Regions from separate parts of the Homo sapiens genome. Here all the other regions are linked to region 1. Evidence: promoter capture Hi-C in human tissues and cell types (Jung and others, 2019). All regions are on one chromosome and are shown on one strand. The core of a region is centred on a gene start or on the middle of the fragment in contact, and the rest is flanking DNA. Distances in the headings are between cores, read along the strand shown. Region 1 holds the start of MAZ (MYC associated zinc finger protein). Region 2 has its middle 17 kb from the start of MIR3680-2. Region 3 overlaps INO80E (INO80 complex subunit E).

Evidence for each region. The method cuts DNA at HindIII sites, captures the fragments that hold promoters and counts their contacts. A contact is called where the count stands out against the background at its distance.
Region 2: a fragment that was not itself captured here is called in contact with the fragment with the promoter of MAZ in region 1 in 1 of the 25 tissues and cell types used here (dorsolateral prefrontal cortex).
Region 3: a fragment that was not itself captured here is called in contact with the fragment with the promoter of MAZ in region 1 in 1 of the 25 tissues and cell types used here (dorsolateral prefrontal cortex).

Annotation. Positions count from the first base shown.
Region 1 is chr16:29,804,685-29,808,910 of GRCh38, forward strand. It overlaps MAZ (MYC associated zinc finger protein), which reads left to right and starts at 1,845. Exons shown (of 5, transcript NM_002383.4): 1 at 1,845-2,209; 2 at 2,294-3,144; 3 at 3,546-3,609; 4 at 3,886-4,057. The coding sequence starts at 2,018. KIF22 (kinesin family member 22) reads left to right here. Exons shown (of 14, transcript NM_007317.3): 12 at 130-342; 13 at 431-490; 14 at 579-700. The coding sequence ends at 626. It overlaps MVP-DT (MVP divergent transcript), which reads right to left. Exons shown (of 4, transcript NR_186424.1): 4 at 3,960-4,226. RefSeq lists silencers at 346-395, 1,136-1,475, 1,606-1,745, 2,646-3,315 and enhancers at 776-825, 3,396-3,635. The HindIII fragment of the contact is 10,316 bases long and covers 1-4,226 here.
Region 2 is chr16:29,614,414-29,618,639 of GRCh38, forward strand. No RefSeq gene overlaps it. Among named protein-coding and RNA genes, the nearest start is that of MIR3680-2, 17 kb to the left of the region's middle. RefSeq lists enhancers at 1-357, 358-1,042. The HindIII fragment of the contact is 8,893 bases long and covers 1-4,226 here.
Region 3 is chr16:29,997,014-30,001,239 of GRCh38, forward strand. It overlaps INO80E (INO80 complex subunit E), which reads left to right. Exons shown (of 7, transcript NM_173618.3): 4 at 3,745-3,823; 5 at 3,916-4,027. Among named protein-coding and RNA genes, the nearest start is that of INO80E, 2.9 kb to the left of the region's middle. The HindIII fragment of the contact is 4,005 bases long and covers 79-4,083 here.

The DNA.
Region 1 (4,226 bases), core at 595-3,094:
TGGACACACTTGACAAGAGAGGAAGAGGCTGGAGCGCAGGAGGTAGCTGGTGCTGGGCTCCTAGTCTTGGCAGAGGAGCCCAAAGCACTTGGCTGCCCTGCGTGTCACTCATCTCCCTTTGCCTCCCAGCTGGAGTCCCTGGATGCCCTAGAGCCTGAGGAGAAGGCTGAGGACTGCTGGGAGCTACAGATCAGCCCGGAGCTACTGGCTCATGGGCGCCAAAAAATACTGGATCTGCTGAACGAAGGCTCAGCCCGAGATCTCCGCAGTCTTCAGCGCATTGGCCCGAAGAAGGCCCAGCTAATCGTGGGCTGGCGGGAGCTCCACGGCCCCTTCAGCCAGGTAGCAGCCCACTGGACTGGGGGAGGGCGGGGGCGGGGGAGACCGGGTACCCCCGAGACCCTGTCCCCTATCGATCCTGTCCCGCCAGGTGGAGGACCTGGAACGCGTGGAGGGCATAACGGGGAAACAGATGGAGTCCTTCCTGAAGGTGAAGTCACGGCCCTGCCCCTCCTCTGCCTGTCCTGCGCCCCGCGCCCCTCTCTAACGTCGCTGTCTCCCTCCCTCCTGTGTTGCAGGCAAACATCCTGGGTCTCGCCGCCGGCCAGCGCTGTGGCGCCTCCTGACCGTCGTCTCCTCACTCCGCCTTTTCAAATTTTTGTATAACCCCGTGTTGTGTAAATACAGTTTTTGCTCCGGTGCTTCCGCCTGATTTTTGGGGCTGCGGGGGCGGGACCGGGGTGTGACCGCCTCGGGGTGGGCCGCGAGCAAGGCAGGCGACTCCACTGGGCGCCATCTTCGGGGAACGACTCAGCGCAGGATTGTAAATACACCGCTGGGGTGGGGCGGGGAGGACGGTGGCCTGCAGGACGCAAAAAGCGGAAGCCGAAGCATGAGGCCTGCGACCGTTAGGCGGGCGCGCGCTCAGGGATTAGCCCCGCCCCGTCCGTGCCCCCGGCGCGCGCGCTCCCCCATTCTCCCGCTCGGCAACGACGGCGGCCTTGTGCGCGTGCGCGCGAAATAACGGCCGCTGGCGGAGGGAGGGGGAGTGGAATCGTTGGCGGGGGGAAGAGGAGAGAAGCCGCCCTGTCTCCCGCGCGCCCACCACCTGCGCCATCGTCAGCCAATCAGCAGCCGTCTCAGGGGTCTCGCGCTCGGGGCGACTCGGGCTGCTGGGTGGCTCCCCCGTCCCTCCTCCCGCCAGAGTCCCTCTCGCGCCTGCCCCTCCCGCTGGCCACGCGCGCGCTCGCGCTAGCGCTCGCGCCCGCTCCAGCCTCTTGTGTGTCCTCGCGCCCCCCGCCCGCCCTCCCCGCGCGTAGTGTGCTCCGCTTCCCCCACCCTCCACCTCCCCCCTCCTGCCCGCCCCGCGCGCCTCCTCCCGGGTTCCCCCTCCCCCACCGCCGCCGCCTCCTCCTCCCGCCCCAGGGTGAGCGCGAGCCACCTCCCTCCCTCCCTCCGCCATGGATCCCAGCAACTGGAGCAGCTTCATCTTCCAGGTAACAACTCCCTCCCCCCGCCCCCACCCCCCTGCCCACACCCCCTCCTGCCCGCCCTCCCTCCCGTCCCACCCCCCCTCCGCGCGCCCGGTGCGCGCGCAGCTGTCCCCCTCCCTCCCTCGCGCCCTCCCCCGCCCTCCCCGAGGCGCCGGCTGGGCGCGCGCGCGGCGGGGGCCGAGGCTGCTCCCTCGCTCCCCCCACCCCGCCCCGCCAGGCTCCAACCGCCGCCGCCGCCGCCGCCGCCGCCCGGGCCCCCGCCCCCGGCCCCGGCCCCGCGGGGCCTCCCGCCCCCACCCAGGGGGCGTCGCCGCCGCCGTCGCCGCGGCGCTCCGCGGCCCGCAAGGCGCCCTCTTTTCCTCCCTCCCGCCGGCCGGGGTGCGCGGGCGGCGGGGCGGCCCGCGGGCCATGCGTTCGGCGCGGCCCAGCCCGGCCGGCCGGGGGCGGCGCCCCGAGCCCGGGCCCCGCGCGGCCCGCGCCCCCGGCCCCCGCTGAGCCCCGGGGGCCCCGCTGCGGCCGAGGCCATGTTCCCGGTGTTTCCTTGCACGCTGCTGGCCCCCCCCTTCCCCGTGCTGGGCCTGGACTCCCGGGGGGTGGGCGGCCTCATGAACTCCTTCCCGCCACCTCAGGGTCACGCCCAGAACCCCCTGCAGGTCGGGGCTGAGCTCCAGTCCCGCTTCTTTGCCTCCCAGGGCTGCGCCCAGAGTCCATTCCAGGTGAGTAGGGCCGGCCGCGGCGGCCCGGGCTGGGGGGGGACGCCCGCCCGCACCCGCGGCCCACTCGGCGCCTTGTCTCCGCAGGCCGCGCCGGCGCCCCCGCCCACGCCCCAGGCCCCGGCGGCCGAGCCCCTCCAGGTGGACTTGCTCCCGGTGCTCGCCGCCGCCCAGGAGTCCGCCGCGGCTGCTGCGGCCGCTGCCGCCGCTGCTGCCGCCGTCGCTGCCGCGCCCCCGGCCCCTGCCGCCGCCTCTACGGTGGACACAGCGGCCCTGAAGCAGCCTCCGGCGCCCCCTCCGCCACCCCCGCCAGTGTCGGCGCCCGCGGCCGAGGCCGCGCCCCCCGCCTCCGCCGCCACTATCGCCGCGGCGGCGGCCACCGCCGTCGTAGCCCCAACCTCGACGGTCGCCGTGGCCCCGGTCGCGTCTGCCTTGGAGAAGAAGACAAAGAGCAAGGGGCCCTACATCTGCGCTCTGTGCGCCAAGGAGTTCAAGAACGGCTACAATCTCCGGAGGCACGAAGCCATCCACACGGGAGCCAAGGCCGGCCGGGTCCCCTCGGGTGCTATGAAGATGCCGACCATGGTGCCCCTGAGCCTCCTGAGCGTGCCCCAGCTGAGCGGAGCCGGCGGGGGAGGGGGAGAGGCGGGTGCCGGCGGCGGCGCTGCCGCAGTGGCCGCCGGTGGCGTGGTGACCACGACCGCCTCGGGGAAGCGCATCCGGAAGAACCATGCCTGCGAGATGTGTGGCAAGGCCTTCCGCGACGTCTACCACCTGAACCGACACAAGCTGTCGCACTCGGACGAGAAGCCCTACCAGTGCCCGGTGTGCCAGCAGCGCTTCAAGCGCAAGGACCGCATGAGCTACCACGTGCGCTCACATGACGGCGCTGTGCACAAGCCCTACAACTGCTCCCACTGTGGCAAGAGCTTCTCCCGGTGTGCACGGGGCCTCGGCCGCCCGCTAGGCCGTGGGGAGGGAGGGACGCGACGGAGGTGGCCTGGCCGTGGCTGGCGGGGAGGGAGGCGGCTGCTGAGGCTGGGGAAGGGGAGCCACTCCCAGGGCGGAGGGAGGAAGCCTCTCCCGGTTACCAGGGAGCAAGGGGTGGTCCTTTGTCGAGGAGGTGGGCCTTGGGGTTGACGGAAGCTTCGCGTGGGAGGAGGCGGCGGCGGCGGCAGCGGCTGCTGGGCTCCAGGGGAGGGATTTCCTGCTTAAGTGTCGCTGTGACGGCCTGGGCTCCGGGAGGAGGCGCAGGGATCCTCGGAAAGGCCTGTGGTGCGGTTTGGTGGATTTGGGGCGCACCACCTCCGCCCTAACCCCAACCCCAACGTGTCCCCAGGCCGGATCACCTCAACAGTCACGTCAGACAAGTGCACTCAACAGAACGGCCCTTCAAATGTGAGGTAGGAAGCCCGCCTCCTCCTGTCTTGGTTTTCATGATTTTGATCCTCATGGTAGCTGTCTGAGTCAGTCTCTCAGACCCCCTTTTTCTCTCTCTTCTTTTTGCCTTTTTGCTCCATTTTCTCATCCCTTCTTCAAGGCCTCATCATGTCACTCCCATTTCCTACAGATCAAAGATCCCCAAGGCTCTGATTCCTTTAATCTCTTGCTCCCCCCTCCCCAGCCCACCAAGCTTTAACTCTCCTGTGACACCCCCCACGCCCCTCCCCCCTCCTCAGAAATGTGAGGCAGCTTTCGCCACGAAGGATCGGCTGCGGGCGCACACAGTACGACACGAGGAGAAAGTGCCATGTCACGTGTGTGGCAAGATGCTGAGCTCGGCTTATATTTCGGACCACATGAAGGTGCACAGCCAGGGTCCTCACCATGTCTGTGAGCTCTGCAACAAAGGTACATGCCGAGGGCTGCCGGGAGGGCCAGGGGCAGAGGGTGGGCGCCTGGCCAGACGCCTTGCCACGGATACGGGTTAAGGGTGCTGTAGCCAAGAGCTCGTGGCGTCTAGATTCCTACAAGAGGTCAAGGGAGCAGCGGGGGGACACCTGAATGAACATCATTAGAC
Region 2 (4,226 bases), core at 542-3,041, 190 kb before region 1:
GCCAGCAATCTGCCTGAGCTCAATTTAATCAACAGAACCGGGGGTTCACCGGGAGCCATAAGACCCCCACCCCCAAATCTAGCTGGGGAATTCAAAGGCAGGCTTCAGTGTGAAGGGGCTTTAAAGCTTGTTATTCCTGGGGAATGCGAGAGGCATCTTAGCTAAAAAGGGTTGAGAGGTAATTTCAGTTAGAGGCGAGAGCAGGATGCCAAGGCTCCTAGGCCTGGAAACGGGAAGGAATATAAATACTGCCCCGAGATTGACCAGACTGGTGAGCAGCCAAAGACCTCTTCAAAGGGTGTGTGTGGGTCAGGGAGGAAGCTCCTCGGTATCACCCCCACCCGGGGTTCCTTGGCGTGTGTCCTAACGAGTCCTTGGAAGCTCACAGCAGGCATGTGGGGAGGCCTTTGTTCTGGGTGAGCGTTCAGCCTCCCAGGGCAAACACGCAAACACCGGTTGCAGAGCTGGGTGTTCACAGCAAGACAGTCTGCTGGGCAGATGCCTCTGGAATCCACAGAATCCTGAACAATAGCCGTGGTGGAGGGGGGGTCAGAATCCCTGTCATGCTGGGACCTCTAGCTGCAGCCAGGAATGTCCAGGCCCCACCCCGGGGAGGAGGCGGCTGAGGAATGCCACGGCTTGTCATTCTGGACCTTGCTCGCCCCCCGGTATGGCGGGCATTCCTCTGCAGTGATAAAACCAAGCGAAATCTCAGCAGCCCAGGCAGCCACCGGCAGGGGAGTGCGGAGGTCACACAGATACTAACTTGTAATCTGCCGTCCACGCTGCTGGCTGTGGAAGGTGCAGAGAGCCCTCCATCCGCCCTATTCTTCCCGCTGTGCCTGCAGAGGGAAGGAGACAGTACCACCATGGCTGGGCAAACTCACCGAGTGCTCACTGAGTCCTCCCCTAGATAGCTTCTTGTGCAATAGGGTAGGTGCCAGTTAGGAGCAAGGTTAGAGATTGTAGGGCCAGATTTTTTGCTTAGGTTCAACTACGCAAAATAAAAATAGACTTTGCATGCATTTCAGGCACTGGGCTGACGACCGGCCACCAGGGAGGCTCCGCCCCACTTCTTAGCTTTGGCCCCAACGTTAGTCTTGTTGCTGCTCTCAGGCGTGCTCTGCGTGTGAAAGATGACTTGGAGGCTGGGCGCGGTGGCTCACGCCTGTAATGCCAGCCCTTTGGGAGACCAAGGTGGGAAAATCTCTTGAGCCCAGGAGTTCAAGACCAGCCTGGGCAACATAGGGAGACCCCGTCTCTACAAAAAATACAAAAACTAGCCCAGCGTGGTGGTGGTGCACCTGTAGTCCCAGCTGCTGGGGAGGCTGAGGTAGAAGGATCACCTGAGCTGGGGAAGGTTGAGGCTGCAGTGAGCTGAGATCACACCACTGCACTCCAGCCTGGGTGACAAAGCAAGACTCCATCTCAAAAACAAAACAAAACAAAAAATAACAAAAAAAAAGAGGGTGAAAGGCAGCCCCAGAGTGGGAGAAGAGATTTGTAAAATGGACAAAGGCCTTATAATTGGAATATATAAAGAACTCCTAAAAATCACTAAGAAAACCACAGACAGCCCAAGAGAAAAATGGGCAAATGGCTCAAGTAGGTGTCTGGTGAAAGAGGATATGCAGATGGCCAATGAATCTGCACAAAGTGCTCCACATCATTAATCATTAGGGAAGTGCAAATTAAATCCACAGGAGACACCTGGGCACACCCTCCAGAAAGCACACAATGACCTGCTGGCAAGGACAGGAACGACCACTTTGGAAAACTCTTTGGCAGCACAGCCAAACTGAGCCTTTCCACTCGAAAATGCCCTTTGCTCAGAACCCAGCAGCAGCTCCAAAGTCTCCACCCAGCCTATCGGGCCCCAGTACCCACCCTTGCCTCCCATGCCTCTCTCCTCACCCCTGCACTTGGCTGCCTCACCCTCGGGCTGCACCTTGAACACCAGAAGGGCGCTCCTGCCTCCAGCCTCTGCCTGGAATTCTCTGCCCTCGGGTAGCCATGTGGTTCACTCCTCCTTTGGTCTCTGCCCAAATGGCCCCTGTAGAAGAGACCTCCCCACCCAGCCATGTCCTCTCCCTGTGACTTACCACCCCAGACTTTCTGTGTTGATGCATCGTGGTCTACCTCCTTCCGTCAGAACGTGAGCTCCGAGGCAAAGGCTCTTCAGACCTGAAACAGTCTAGGCTCTGTCCCCAGAGTCTAGAATAGAGCCTGCCATGTAATTGGCACTCAATAAATGTTACATGAATTAATGGAAACCATCCTGGCACGAGTGGTAGCTCTCTTTCCACCAAAAGAATGAGCTTGCCAAGAGAGAGAGACAACATCACGAAAGAGAGACAGAAAAGCCACACTCAGACCCAACTTTGAGTTCTGGATCAAGTCTTTTTTTTTTTTTTTTTTTTTGAGACAAAGTTTCGCTCTTGTTTCCCAGGCTGGAATGCAATGGCGCGATCTCGGCTCACTACAACCTCTGCCTCGCGGGTTCAAGCAATTCTCCTGCCTCAGCCTCCCGAGTAGCCGGGATTACAGGCATGCACCACCAAGCTCGGCTAATTTTGTATTTTTAGTAGAGATGGGGTTTCTCCATGTTGGTCAGGCTAGTCTGGAACTTGGCCTCCCAAAGTGCTGGGTTTACAGGCGTGAGCCACAGCGCCTGGCTCCTATGTTATTTTTTAGGAGCTTTATTGTTTTACCTTTCCTATTTAGATCTATAGTCTGTCAGGAATTAATTTTTGTGTGTGCTGTGAGGTAGGGGTGTGAGGTATGGTGAGAAAAAAGATTCATGGTTCCCCATTTGGATATCCCGTTGGCTCGGTGGGGTGGCTCATGCCTGTAATCCCAGCACTTTGGGAGGTCAAAGCAGGAGAACTATTGGAGCTCAGGGGTTCAGGACCAACCTGGGCAACATAATGAGACCCTGTGGATCAACAGATGAATTGATCGATCAATCAATACGTAGATAGATAAGTATCCAAATGATCCAAAACTATTCACAGAAAAGCCCAACCATTCCCTACAGCATGACTCAGGGATCACAAATGTGTGGAACCTTCTAGACATGCTATTCTTTTTCATTGGTTGATTTGTCCTTCTCTGACAGGTACCACATTATCTTAATTAATATAGCTTTTTATTTTTATTTATTTATTTTAGATGGAGTCTCACTCTGTCGCCCAGGCTGGAGTGCAGTGGCGTGATCTCAGCTCACTGCAAGTTCTGCCTCCCGGATTCAAGCGATTCTCCTGCCTCAGTCTCCTGAGTAGCTGGGATTACAGGCATGAGCCACCGCACCTAGCTAATTTTTGTATTTTTAGCAGAGACAGGGTTTCGCCATGTTGGCCAGGCTGGTGTCGAACTTCTGACCTCAGGTGATCTTCCCACCTCGGCCTCCCAAAGTGCTGGGATTACAGGCATGAGCCACTGCGCCTGGCCTACTATAGCTTTTGAAATAGGTCTTGACATCAAATTGTGTGTGTTTTCTGGTTTTATCCTGCCAGATTACTTTTGGTTGTATTTTTGGTAGAGACGGGGTTTCACCATGTTGGCCAGGCTGGTCTCAAACTTCTGACCTCAAGTGATCCACCTGCCTCGGCCTCCCAAAGTGCTGGGATTACAGGCGTGAACCACTGTGCCTGGCCTCACAAGAATTCCTTTTTATTTTGAGACGGAGTTTTGCTCTTGTTGCCCAGGCTGGAGTGCAATAGTGCAATCTTGACTCACTGCAACCTCTGCCTCCCGGGTTCAAGCAATTCTCCTGCCTCAGCCTCCCAAGTAGCTGGGATTACAGACACGCACCCAGCTAATGTTTGTGTTTTTTATAGAGACAGGGTTTCACCGTGTTGGCCAGGATGGTCTCGATCTCCTGACCTCGTGATCCACCCACCTCGGCCTCCCAAAGTGCTGGGATTAAAGGCGTGAGGCAATGCGCCCGGCCAGGAGTTTTTACAAGGAGGAAGCTGAAGCTGGAAAGGCACGGAAAAGGATCCTCCCCTAGAGCCTCAGAAGGAAGCAGCCGTGCGGACACCTTGGTGTCAGGCTTCTGGCTCACTGAACCGTAAGAGAATCAGTCTCCATTGTTTTAAGCCACCAAGTTTGTGGTACTTTGTTACAGTGAAACTAAGCACCCTGCACTTGCGTTGGGTGCCATGGCACACCCCTCCATCCCAGCGTTATGTTCCCCACGGTACTTACACATCTTTCTTTCACTT
Region 3 (4,226 bases), core at 831-3,330, 190 kb after region 1:
AGGCACTTACTGAGCACCTATTGTGTTTCAGGCACTGTGCTTGGCACAGGGGATACAGCAGAGGCAGAGATAGGCAAAGCCCTTGGCCTCTTGTAATTTATATTCTAGTTGGGAAGAATAAGTAAATGAAGACAATAGACTAGAATTTTAGGTCATAGGAAGGACTTGAAGGTAATGAAAACAGTTATGCGGTAATGATTATAGTAGAACAGGGGTTGATGAATTGTTTCTGCAAAGGGCCAGATGGTAAGTAAGCTTTTTGCAACATACAATCTTTGAAGCACCTACTGAACTCTGCCATTGTAGTAGCAGCCGTACCCCATAGGCAAATACATGAGTATGGCTATGTTTCTATAAAACTTTATAGGCACTGAAATTTGAATTTCATATTTTTCCATATGAAAAATTTTTCTTTAGTTTTTTTTTTTTCCAACCGTTTAAAAGCTTAAAAGCCATTCTTGGCCAGGTGCAGTGGCCCACGCCTGTAATCCCAACACTTTGGGAGGCCGAGGTGGGCGGATCACAAGGTCGGGAGTTCAAGACCAGCCTGACCAACATGGTGAAACCTCGTCTCTACTAAAGATACAAAAATTAGTCGGGTGTGGTGGCGTGCACCTGTAATCCCAGCTACTGGGGAGGCTGAGGCAGGAGAATCATTTGAACCCTGGAGGCAGAGGTTGCAGTGAGCCGAGATCGCTGCCACTGCATTCCAGCCTGGGTGACAGGGCGAGACTCCGTCTCAAAAAAAAAAAAAAACGCCCTTCTTAGCTTGCAGACCACACAAGCAGGCAGCAGGCAACCTCTGAATGGAGTACTCAAGAAAGGCCTTTCACAGAGTGACATTTGAGTTGGGACCAGAGAAGAAACCAGCCTTCCATCCTGGGCAACATAGTGAGACCCCATCTCAATTAAAAAAAAATTAGCCATGTATAGTGGTGTATACATGTGGTCCCAGCTACTTGGGAGGCAGAACCAGGAGGATCCCTTGCCTGAAAGGTCAAGGCTGCAGTGAGCCATGATAGCACCGCTGTGCTCCAGCCTGGGTGACAGAGCAAGACTGTCTCAAAAGAAAGAAACCCCATCCTGGCTAACACAGTGAAACCCTGTCTCTACTAAAAATACAAAAAGTTAGCCGGGGATGTTGGTGGGCACCTGTAGTCCCAGTTACTCGGGAGGCTGAGGCAGAAGAATGGCGTGAACCTGGGAGGTGGAGCTTGCAGTGAGCTGAGATTGCACTACTGCAGTCCAGCCTGGGCAACAGAGCCAGACTCCATCTCAAAAAAAAAAAAAAAACAAAAACCAATCTTGTGAAGAAGTGGGCTAGAGCTGTCCCGGCAGAATAATATAAATGCAGCTACCCTGAGGTAAGAACAGGTCAGGCTTGGTTGAAGAGCAGAGGCATGAAAGAGAGAGAACACTGTTTTCGTCCTTTTATTTGAATATTGTCTGCAGTTAACTATATTTTACATCATAACCAGGGCCCCACATGTTAAACAAAACAAAGTTTAACGAAACATTTTTAAGATCACTGTATCCAATTCATCCTGACACTTTTTAGACTGCTTTTTTCCCCTTCTTTTAATGCTGGTTGCAAACCAATAAATTGATTTCATGACCCACTAATGGCTTGAGACCCACAGTTTGAAAAAGCCCTAAGGTAGGCATTTGTGGGCCTCTTCCTGGGTGAGGCCCTCGTAAGCCATGTCACGTAGAATCACCTCTCTCCGTGGTGCCTTTAAACATTGGTCTGGGCCGGGCACGGTGGCTCACGCTTGTAATCCCAGCACTTTGGGAGGCCGAGGCAGGCAGATCACGAGGTCAGGAGATCGAGACCGTCCTGGCTAACATGGTGAAACCCCGTCTCTACTAAAAATACATAAAATTAGCTGGGTGTGGTGGCGGGCGCCTGTAGTCCCAGCTACTCAGGAGGCTGAGGCAGAAGAATGGTGTGAACCCGGGAGGCGGAGCTTGCAGTGAGCCGAGATTACGCCACTGCACTCCAGCCTGGGCAACAGAGCAAGACTCCGTCTCAAAAAAAAAAAAAAGCACATTGGTCTGAGGCAGGGATTGGCATGTGGCAGCCAGCCACGTTTTAGGACGTAGTGTTTTGTCAGAACGCATGATACCCATTTGCTTGTTATTATAGGAGGATTGTAGATAAGGTTGGGGAAATAGGCAGGGGCCCACTCAGGTAGGTCATAGTAGGAGATTTGGCTTTTATTGTAGCCTCTCATCCCCTGCCTCTTCCTTCCCTAGGGGCTTCCAGTTAACATCCTGTTTGAGGGGAATTCAGGGCAGGAGGTGGGAGAGAACCCAGCATGTTCATGGCCAGAGTGGGTTGCATCTGAGGAGGAAGAGCCAGCGATGCGAGCCCCACTCCCGTCCTGGAGGCCCACGCCCTGGCCAGGGAGACACTCGCAAACGACGCTTTTCAGCACAGTGTGAGGGCAGCCATGACGAGAGTAGAGCGTTCCAGGAGAGCCTGCAGTTAACTGGGCTTGAGGGATTCTGGAAGACTTCACAGAGGAGGTGGCATTTAATCTGCTTCTTAAAGGGTCTGTCTGAGCAGAGACATTGGTAACGGCTTCTATAGGTGTAGCAGTCGTTTGTTCGATGAAAGATGGCCCTTCTAGGCAGAGGCACTGAACTAGGAAATACATTTCTTTTTTGACGAAATAGGTCAGTGTGCTTTAAAGAATACAGTTACGTTAGTTGACCAGAAAGGTACATTGAAGCCAGATTAAGCAGCACCATGAATTCATGCAGGTAGTGGGTGATGTCATCAGGAAGGATGTGACCAGGTTTGTTTTAGGTCACTCTGGGGTTGGGGGTGGACAGTGGGTGGCACGGTGAGGTGAGACTGCTTAGCAGGTGATTTTGACGTGCTGGTGGCCTGACCTGTGTTAGTTGGTGTGGGGAGCAGTGGATGAAGGGGAGGACTTCAGGGGTAGATGAACAGGACCCTGGTTATGGGGAGTGGGGCAGAGGCAGGAGTTGAAGACTGCTCAGCTCAGAGGCAAGGAACCAGTGGCATCAAACAGCCAAGGAGTCACAGACCTGGCTTGGAGTCTTAGCCTCACACCTTACTTTCTGAGCCTCGGTGACCTCATGTGACAAGTGGAGGTGCTGCCCTTCCCATCCTTCCTTGGATCTGATGACAAGGAGAGGTGGTGAGTGGGAAAGAGCCTGGCACCCTGGCCATGCGTGGCAGGTGTGTTACGGAGGAACCAGAGCGGGCGGGGGGCTGGGGAGGCTGGAGAGGCTATGGGCCTCCCTGGGACAGCTCGAGTGTGTGGTGCATGCGTGTGCCCACCAGCTGGTGAGTCAGATTCCCCCGGGGCCCTTCTGTTAGGTTTTGGTTTGTTTCATTTTTTTGAGGCAGGGTCTTGCTCTGTCACCCAGGCTGGCGTGCAGTGTTAAAATCACAGCTCACTGCAGTCTCAATCTCCGAGTAGTTCTCCTGCCTCAGCCTCCTGAGTAGCTGGGACTACAAGCACACGCCACCATGCTCGGATAATTGTTTTTGTTTTTAATAGAGATGAGGTCTTGCTAGGTTGTCCAGGCTGCTCTTGAACTCCTGGCCTCAAGCGATCTGGCCACCTCAGCCTCTCACAGTGCTGGGATTCCAGGCGTGAGCCCCCGCACCTGGTCTTCCAGTGCCCTTCTGTAGTGTAGAGGAGGTTATACCTTTCTGGGATGGACTGGGATCCCCCCATCCCCACTGACCAGCTGTCCCCATCACAGACTCAGATGCCACTGCATCATCAGATAACAGCGAGACGGAGGGGACACCCAAGTTGTCTGACACACCGGCCCCTAAGAGGTGAGAAGAAGATGCATTCCTCTCGCTGGGGAGGGTCAGGTGGGGCGCCTGGGCTCCTAGCCACATCTGACCTCGCCCTGTCCTTTCTCCAGGAAGAGAAGCCCTCCGCTGGGGGGCGCCCCCTCTCCCTCCAGCCTCTCCCTGCCTCCTTCAACAGGGTTTCCCCTTCAGGCCTCCGGGGTCCCCTCCCCATACCTGAGCTCGGTGAGTTGGGGTCAGGGATGGGAAGTGCTTGGGAGTAAGGTGGGCGTCATTTGGGCAGAAGGGCTGGGCCTCGGGGCAAGGCCAGCCCAACTTTGGGGACATCTGTCTGGGTGTGGCCCAAGTGTCCCGTGGAGGGTGTGAGTCGGGGCTGCCCCCTTCTCTCTGGTATAGGAACGGGGCCAGGCCTGACTGAGGAGAG